Regions from separate parts of the Homo sapiens genome. Here region 2 is linked to region 1. The links are contacts of gene promoters, found by promoter capture Hi-C in blood cells and fetal thymus (Javierre and others, 2016). All regions are on one chromosome and are shown on one strand. Each heading gives the region's core, a stretch centred on a gene start or on the middle of the fragment in contact. The rest is flanking DNA. Distances are from core to core; before and after follow the strand shown.

The links. The method cuts DNA at HindIII sites, captures the fragments that hold promoters and counts their contacts. A CHiCAGO score of 5 or more calls a contact.
Region 2: a fragment that was not itself captured here is called in contact with the fragment with the promoter of DNAH8-AS1 in region 1 in 1 of 17 cell types (naive CD8 T cells); the score reaches 5.3 in naive CD8 T cells.

The regions. Positions count from the first base shown.
Region 1 is chr6:38,951,115-38,954,845 of GRCh38, forward strand. DNAH8-AS1 (DNAH8 antisense RNA 1) reads right to left here and starts at 1,993. Exons shown (of 5, transcript NR_038401.1): 1 at 1,934-1,993. It overlaps DNAH8 (dynein axonemal heavy chain 8), which reads left to right. Exons shown (of 93, transcript NM_001206927.2): 82 at 204-406. The HindIII fragment of the contact is 10,031 bases long and covers 1-3,731 here.
Region 2 is chr6:39,285,769-39,289,619 of GRCh38, forward strand. No RefSeq gene overlaps it. Among named protein-coding and RNA genes, the nearest start is that of KCNK17, 27 kb to the right of the region's middle. The HindIII fragment of the contact is 3,820 bases long and covers 1-3,393 here.

The DNA.
Region 1 (3,731 bases), core at 743-3,242:
AATGCCTGGCTGGTACCAAAACCACACGATTAAGTTTGTGCTCATCTGTGATAGGAAACCTTGCCATTCCTCTTACTTAGATGTGGAAAAGTAGGAATTAACTTGTTGCCCTTTTGCTAATTAAATGTATGTTTTTACTTACTCAGATAGGATAAAAATTGAACACGTTTAGTTTATTTCGCCTAACTTGTATTCATTTTTAGGTCTTGGTGCCCAGACCGTACTGTTTTTCAAGCAAGAAAGTATATTGCAGATTCTTTGGAGGAGAAGTACACAGAACCAGTTATCTTAAATCTGGAGAAAACTTGGGAAGAAAGTGATACCCGGACACCTCTGATATGCTTCCTGTCCATGGGATCTGACCCCACCAATCAAATTGATGCATTGGCCAAGAAACTGAAACTGGGTAAGACTAGCAATCTACAAAATGTAGCAACACTTCCATATTTTTTTGCCCCAAATTTTGCCTTTCGTAATTTTATAACTGATTCTTAGAAATAGATGTAAAACTGAATTCGAAAAATATTAAACTTATTCCTCTTTCATCCTTTCATACCTCCTAAAGTGAGGGTATGATATAGGTATCTTTGTTTAGAGAAGAACATGCTCATCTAGCATATAGTGTTTTTTTTTTGATTGGTTGTGTTTTAAGTTCTAAGGAGATAGCTGTATTGCATGGATAGCTGACTAACAAGAATGAACACACAATAGCCAAAGTTTATGTTATTGCCATGTCTATATAAAATTACAGCAAAGTTTATTTTGTCACAAATTAAAAAACTATAACCATTATTGTAATGCATAGTAGTTAGGGATTAATTATTTCATTGCTTTCACTTAATAACCATTCAGTACAGGCAGTGTGCTAGATCTGGGGAGCACAGAGATGAATACAACACAGCTGGGAAAGACAGACACGTAAACATGTAATTGAAGGCAATGTGACAACTGCAGTAAATGTTTCATAGAAGTGGCTGATCACAGGATTCAGAGCTACTCGGATTGCCTGGGGTATAGGGGAAAACATCACATTGATGATATTTGAGTAGGAAATTAAAAAATAGATAAAATTTACCAGGTGGGGTGGTGGGAGATAGAAAGTTACTCCAGGGAGAGGAGATGGGAAAGAAGTTATAAACACAGAAGTGTTTATAAGTGTGACTGAGTCAGTAGGATTAAAGGACAGGGATGCAGAGCACATCTTGACAGGACTGAGCCATCCTGTAAGAAGGACTTTCTTGACAGGACTGAGCCATCCTGTAAGAAGGACTGTTTATCCCTTGCTTCATTCATACTCTGAAAATCGGAATGCTGTTGACATTGGCATTTGCAATCTTCTAGGGTCAGGTATCTGTAACTATACCTTGTAGGGTTAATCCAATCATGTCTTTTGAGTATTACAGTGATTGATTATGAATCACTAAATCTATCCTGTGAAGTAAAATTACATTAAATTTATTACATAGTCGACATAAGCATGATATAAAATCAATTCAGTCATGTCCACGTACTAGCCACATGTCCCTCTGCATAAAACCAAGCTACGGTAGCATGGTCCATGTTCATGTTCTCTTTTCTCATCTTGACTTCACTCTATTTGTTGTCACCACACTGTTCTATATTCTCAGTGGATCAGTGTTCAAATGGCCACGGTCTTCTGTCTGAACACTGATACCAATGCAAAGAGCTCCCAGGTTCTATTGGCAACTGCTCATGGTTAAGTCTCATTCGCTATCTTCAAAGTAGGCAGTTTTGCTCTAGTATTTACTGCAGCACACCAGCCGTCTGAGTTTATCTCAGAGTGATGCCTCTCGAGTAGCCTTATAGTTTGCAAATCTCTCTCAAATCTGTTGCTCTATGAGTGTTTATCCAGCTGCCTCTAAGCCTCACTTCTCTCTGCACACAGGTATATTTTTTCTCTCTTAACACTTACCATTCTTCTCCACATGGCAGAACATGTGGCTTCTAGTGGCTCATGGGCTTCACTGCTTACGTGCTCAGAATGTTCAGCACCCTCAGGGAAACTCCTCTTATTGTCATGGTTCCAAGTTCCAATATCCAGGGAAGTAACTCATTGTCTTTGCTTTGGTCATGCACTCCTTTCTGGGCCAATCAATGAACTGTCGCTCTGGAGATAGGTTCCTAGTAGAAACCTTATGTACAGAGCTGGAATGGGGGACATTTCTTAGAAGATACAACGCCTAGAAGAAGGAGTATTCAACTAGAGTTACCATTTCAAATGTTGTAATTTGAGAACATAATTAAAAAATTCAAGGTCTCCTTTGGGAGAAATTATAACTGACATTAAATGAATGCAGAAGGGCAGACTTGTGTTATATCCTTTAGTGTTATCATACTGCTTTGCTTGGCAATTTGGTGGTTTCCGTTTCTTGGTCCTACCTTACTTTTTCCAACAACAATCCAGGCTTCTATTGATTACTTTATTAGGGTACTGGAACAACATAGATTTGGCTTTAACACTGAAGGATCAAATGAATTTTATAAACAATTCTACTGCCAAATCATTTGAGCAGTATTAGGAAGTCTCAGGCTGCTTGCTGCTTTGGGTTGAAAGTCCCAAAGATAGCTGTTAAAATGGAACTATTACACATACCGAACAACATGTTAATGTAGTCTCAGCTATTAATATTTTATTTGAAAATCTGGATAATAAATAATCATAGAATGCTTCAGGTGAATGTGACTGGAAATCTTGAAATCCAATTACTTTTTTTTTTTTTTTTAACAGTTGGGGGAAACTATGGTCTGGAGATAAGGCCCCAGACCTAGTCCGTGGCAGATCTGGTTCAGAACTTATCTCAGGAACCCCACTTCAGTGATCTCATTGGTCTTTCTTTTTCATTCCTTCTCATTGTTTTCATTGAATGAATTAACCAGCTACCCGAAAATAACATACGGATGGGACAGAATCAATAAGTTTTTGTAGAAAAAGAGGAGAAGGGAAACTTTGGTTATAGATATTGTCTTGTACTGGTCAAGATCTGTAGTGAGAAATTTGGAGCAGATAAACTCTGCACAGAGTACTGGGTACATGGGCAAAGTGGAGAAAGCAGATGGGTTTAGCACGAGAGCCTTTCTAGGAGCCTGACTACTGGAGGAGGGAGGTCTCAGAGGAAGGATGGGCTTAAAAAGAACACCTAAAAACAAACGAAAGAGAACAAATACATAAAACCCCACAACCACACAAAAGTAGTAGTGGGAAAACTGATATAACAATATGTACAGATGAAACATTTTAACATTTTAAATAATAAGAGAATGGCTCATAATTATAGTAATAAATTACAGGCCGGGCGCGGTGGCTCACGCCTGTAATCCCAGCACTTTGGGAGGCCGAGACGGGCGGATCACGAGGTCAGGAGATCGAGACCATCCTGGCTAACACGGTGAAACCCCGTCTCTACTAAAAATACAAAAATTAGCCGGGCATGGTGGCGCGCGCCTGTAGTCCCAGCTACACGGGAGGCTGAGGCAGGAGAATGGCGTGAACCCGGGAGGCGGAGCTTGCAGTGAGTCGAGATCGCGCCACTGCACTCCAGCCTGGGCGACAGAGCGAAACTCCGTCTCAAAAAAAAAAAAAAAAAAAAAAAAAATAAATTACAGCATCTCATTAAAATTGGCAAATTTATAGAAACATATGAATTTAGAAAATTTCCTCAGAAAAGGTAGAAAACCCTGAATAAACCAATAATCAAGGGGAGAAAAAGTAG
Region 2 (3,851 bases), core at 234-2,733, 330 kb after region 1:
AGGGGGCTCTTGTGAGATGGAGAAAATGGTAGTGTGAAACTGCGTGGTGGCAGTGAAGCTGGGGAGAAGCGGCCAGAACTTAGAGGTCAAACAATAGGATTTTGCACTGAATTGGCAGTGAGGGGTTGGGAGAAAGAGGTCAAGCATTCATTCATTTACCAGTCACAAAACAGCTCCTGGGTGCCCACCACACGCCAGAGACAGTCAGGAGCTAGCAAAGTCCCATCCTCCTGAAGTTTATCTTCTAGTGGGTTTTGTTTTTTTAAAAATGGGCTTATTGAGATATAATATACATACCACACAGTTTACCCATTTAAATTGTACAAGTCAATGGTTCTTAGTATAATTCATAGATATGCGCCAACTTCAACACAGTCTATTTTAGAACACTTTCTTTTTTCTTGAGACAGGTTCTCCCTCTGTTTCCCAGGCCAGAGGGTAGTGGTAAGATCACGGCTCACTGCAGCCTCAACCTCCTGGGCTCAAGAGATCCTCCTGCCTTAGCCTTCTGAGTACCTAGAAACACAGGTGTGTGCCACCATGCTCCATTAATATTTTTCTATTTTTGTAGAGATGGGGCCTCAACATGTTGCCCATGCTGGTCTTGAAATCCTGGACTCAAGCTCTACTCCTCCATCAGCCTCCCAAAGTGCTGGGATTACAGGCATGAGCAACTACTCCTGGCCACTTTCTTCACCTCAAGAAGAAACCCTGGACCAGGCGTGGTGGCTCACGCCTGTAATCCCAGCACTTTGGGAGGCTGAGGCGGGCGGATCACCTGAGGTCAGGAGTTTGAGACCAGCCTGACCAACATAGAGAAACCCCGTCTCTACTAAAAATACAAAAATACCAGGTGTGGTGGCGCATGCCTGTAATCCCAGCTACTCGGGAGGCTAAGGCAGGAGAATTGCTTGAACCCGGGAGGCGGAGGTTGCGGTGAGTTGAGATCATGCCATTGCACTACAGCCTGAGCTCGAAACTCCATCTCAAAAAAAAAAAAAAAAAAAAAAGAAGAAGAAGAAACCCTGTATCCTTTAGTTATCACTTCCTTTTTTTTTTTTTTTTTTTTAAGACAGGGTCTCACTCTGTCACCCAGGCTGGAGTGCAATGGTGCAATCTCAGCTCACTGCAACCTCTGCCTCCAGATTTCAAGGGTTCAAGCGATTCTCGTGCCTCAGCCTCCCTAGTAGTTGGGATTACAGGCAGGTGCCCGCCACTACACCCGGCTAATTTTTGTAGTTTTAGTAGAAATGGGGTTTCACCATGTTGGCCAGGCTGGTCTTGAACTCCTGACCTTAGGTGATCCACCCACCTTGGCCTCCCAAAGTCCTGGGATTACAGGCATGAGCCACCGTGCCCGGCCTTGTTATCACTTCCTATTCCACCCCTCTTTCCCCACCGCCAGCCCTAAGCAACTACTAATCTACTTTTACCCTCTATAGATTTCCCTGTCTGGGCCTGTTTTGGAGGTAAGATCATGTTTATGACCTGGGGCATTGTGGTAGAAACTCCTGATTTCTCCCACTATTCAATCTTTTACCTTTTCATAACATAATCTCACTATTTAGATGGGCACTTTGTCACCTGCTAAGAGATTACATTTCCCAGTTTCCATTGAAGGGAGATGTGACTGTGCTACCAAGTTCTAACCAATGAAATGTAAGAAACTGTTCCACTGGCTGTTTAATAAAGAAATCTCCTTAAAATGGTGTGGAGTGTGGCGTGTGTTCTTCTCCCCTTTTTCCTTCTTCCTTTCTGACTGAATGCAGACCAGATGGCTGGAGCTCAAGCAGCCATCTTGAACCACGAGATGATGCAGAAGGGGATGATGCTGACTGCTTAGCTCTAGGAACTCAAAGGAGAAATCTGATTCAGAGATAACAATTTGAGAGACACCGAACTGTAGTTAGTCGTTGAAATCTTGGCAGGGTACTTCATGACTTAGGGAGCAAACAGAGAATGAGAAAAGAAGATGGCCTAAGGCTGAGCCTTGAGGAAAATCAAGGTTTACAGAAGAGATGAGCTGGCAATGGAAATTCCAGTTAAGGGCTCCAGCCTCCACCGGCCATATTATAGGGTCTTTAGTGTCTTCCTCTGCAACTCCCTTATCTGTAACTATCAAGATTCTTAGAGATTTACTCAGCCCTGAAGGGCTAAGTCCTGAGTTTCAGCACCAGGGAGAACTAGAGCTATATAACCCAAATATGTCCACAAATCTCAAGGCCACAGGTCACTATTATAAATTGGTACTGCACGTTCCTCTCCCTGAATATCTCAAAGGATTTATGCAAATTGATCCGCCTCTTCCCCTAAGCGCTGAACAATGGATGCTTCGTTGCCCAACATTTGAGTATCTAAATGCTCTCCAGAAGTGACTCTTTGCCGGACAAAGAGGGACAGTTGTCCTCCATTTCAGGAAGGAAGGAAAAAACCAAGACGGGAAAGAAGGAGACAGAAAGGAAGACAGCAAAGAAAAAACGAAATAAGGAAAGAGGGAAAAAATACAGACAGATTATCGTGCTATACCTGAAAAGGTGTGGCCAGGTAGGCAGGAGGAAACCCAGGAGACCCGCAGCCACACAGATGCCAAGCTGCTGAGAGGGGCAAGTAAGGTGAGGTTGGAAAGTGTCTCCCGGACTTTGTAACATGGAGGTCTGCCCTCGCAGAGATGTTTTGGGGTCAGACTCGGCGCTGGAGTGGGTGAGGAGTGTGGCCAGACGAGGAAGCAGGGTTAAAGGCTGTCTTTGGAGGCACTGCCAGGTGGTGTGAACACCCAGAGCTTCCAAGTCAGGCTGGAGGCTGGCTTGAATGCTGGCCCCAACATCACCATCTCACTGAAATGAGTTAACATTTCCGGGCACACGGTAGGTGTTGAGAAAGCAGTAGTTTCATTTTTATCCCTGTTTCCCACTAAGGGTACCCATGGGCAGTTCCATTCTGTGGGTGTTGGTTACTGTAGGCCAAAATGAAATGTCCAGTGGCACTATGTCTTTCTATCTTCCTCTAGCAGGTCAGTCCAGAAATGTCCTTGTGGCTATGGGAGAGAGGGAAAAAGAGAGAGAGAGAGATTGAGAATAAACAAGTCAATTTCACAAATACTTTCAAGCCCAATTGGCTAAAGCAAATCCCATGGCCAAGCCCATACAGCCTGAGTGAGAAGTCACATGACAAAGGGCAGGGATCCTGGGAGGGATGAAGAACTGGGGCTTTCTTTAGTCTACCATGGCAAACTACTGTAGGGGCTAAGGGAAAGTTCCCCTTGGCCTGCTGAAGGTTTGCTGAAAAATCAACTCATAAAAGGGGGATTAATTGGAGAAAAGGCATACAAATTTACTTACCATATATACCCAGGAGCCTTCAGAATGAAGACCCAGTCTCCCAATGGGGTACAGAAGCTTGTGTACCATCTTGAGTTTACAGAGAGAATGGAGGCTTGGATCCTGGCAAAACATGTTTATGGTAGTGGGGAGAAGAGGAATTCTGGTAAGGGGGAATAAGTGGTTGCTAGGGAGAGTTCAATGGTCTTGAAGAACATACAAGGGTCTAGGACAAGGGCCCGAAGAGCAGACAAGGGCTTCTGACAAAAGCCTATCCAGATTTGTTGACAGACTTTGGTCTTCCTTCTTGAGAAATGGGTTCAGTTAATGAAAACTCAGGAAGGGACTGGAGGTAATTGTTTCCTTCTTTGGGAGGTCCAGACTTTAGGCAGACAAAGAACTTCAGAGAATCACATTTACATTCCAACAACAGGAAGAAAGAAGGGCTGAAATGGGATGGATGCCCCTCCCTTTAAGGACAATCCCCAGTGGTTGTACACACAACTGCTGACTACATCCTGTGGTAAATGCTGT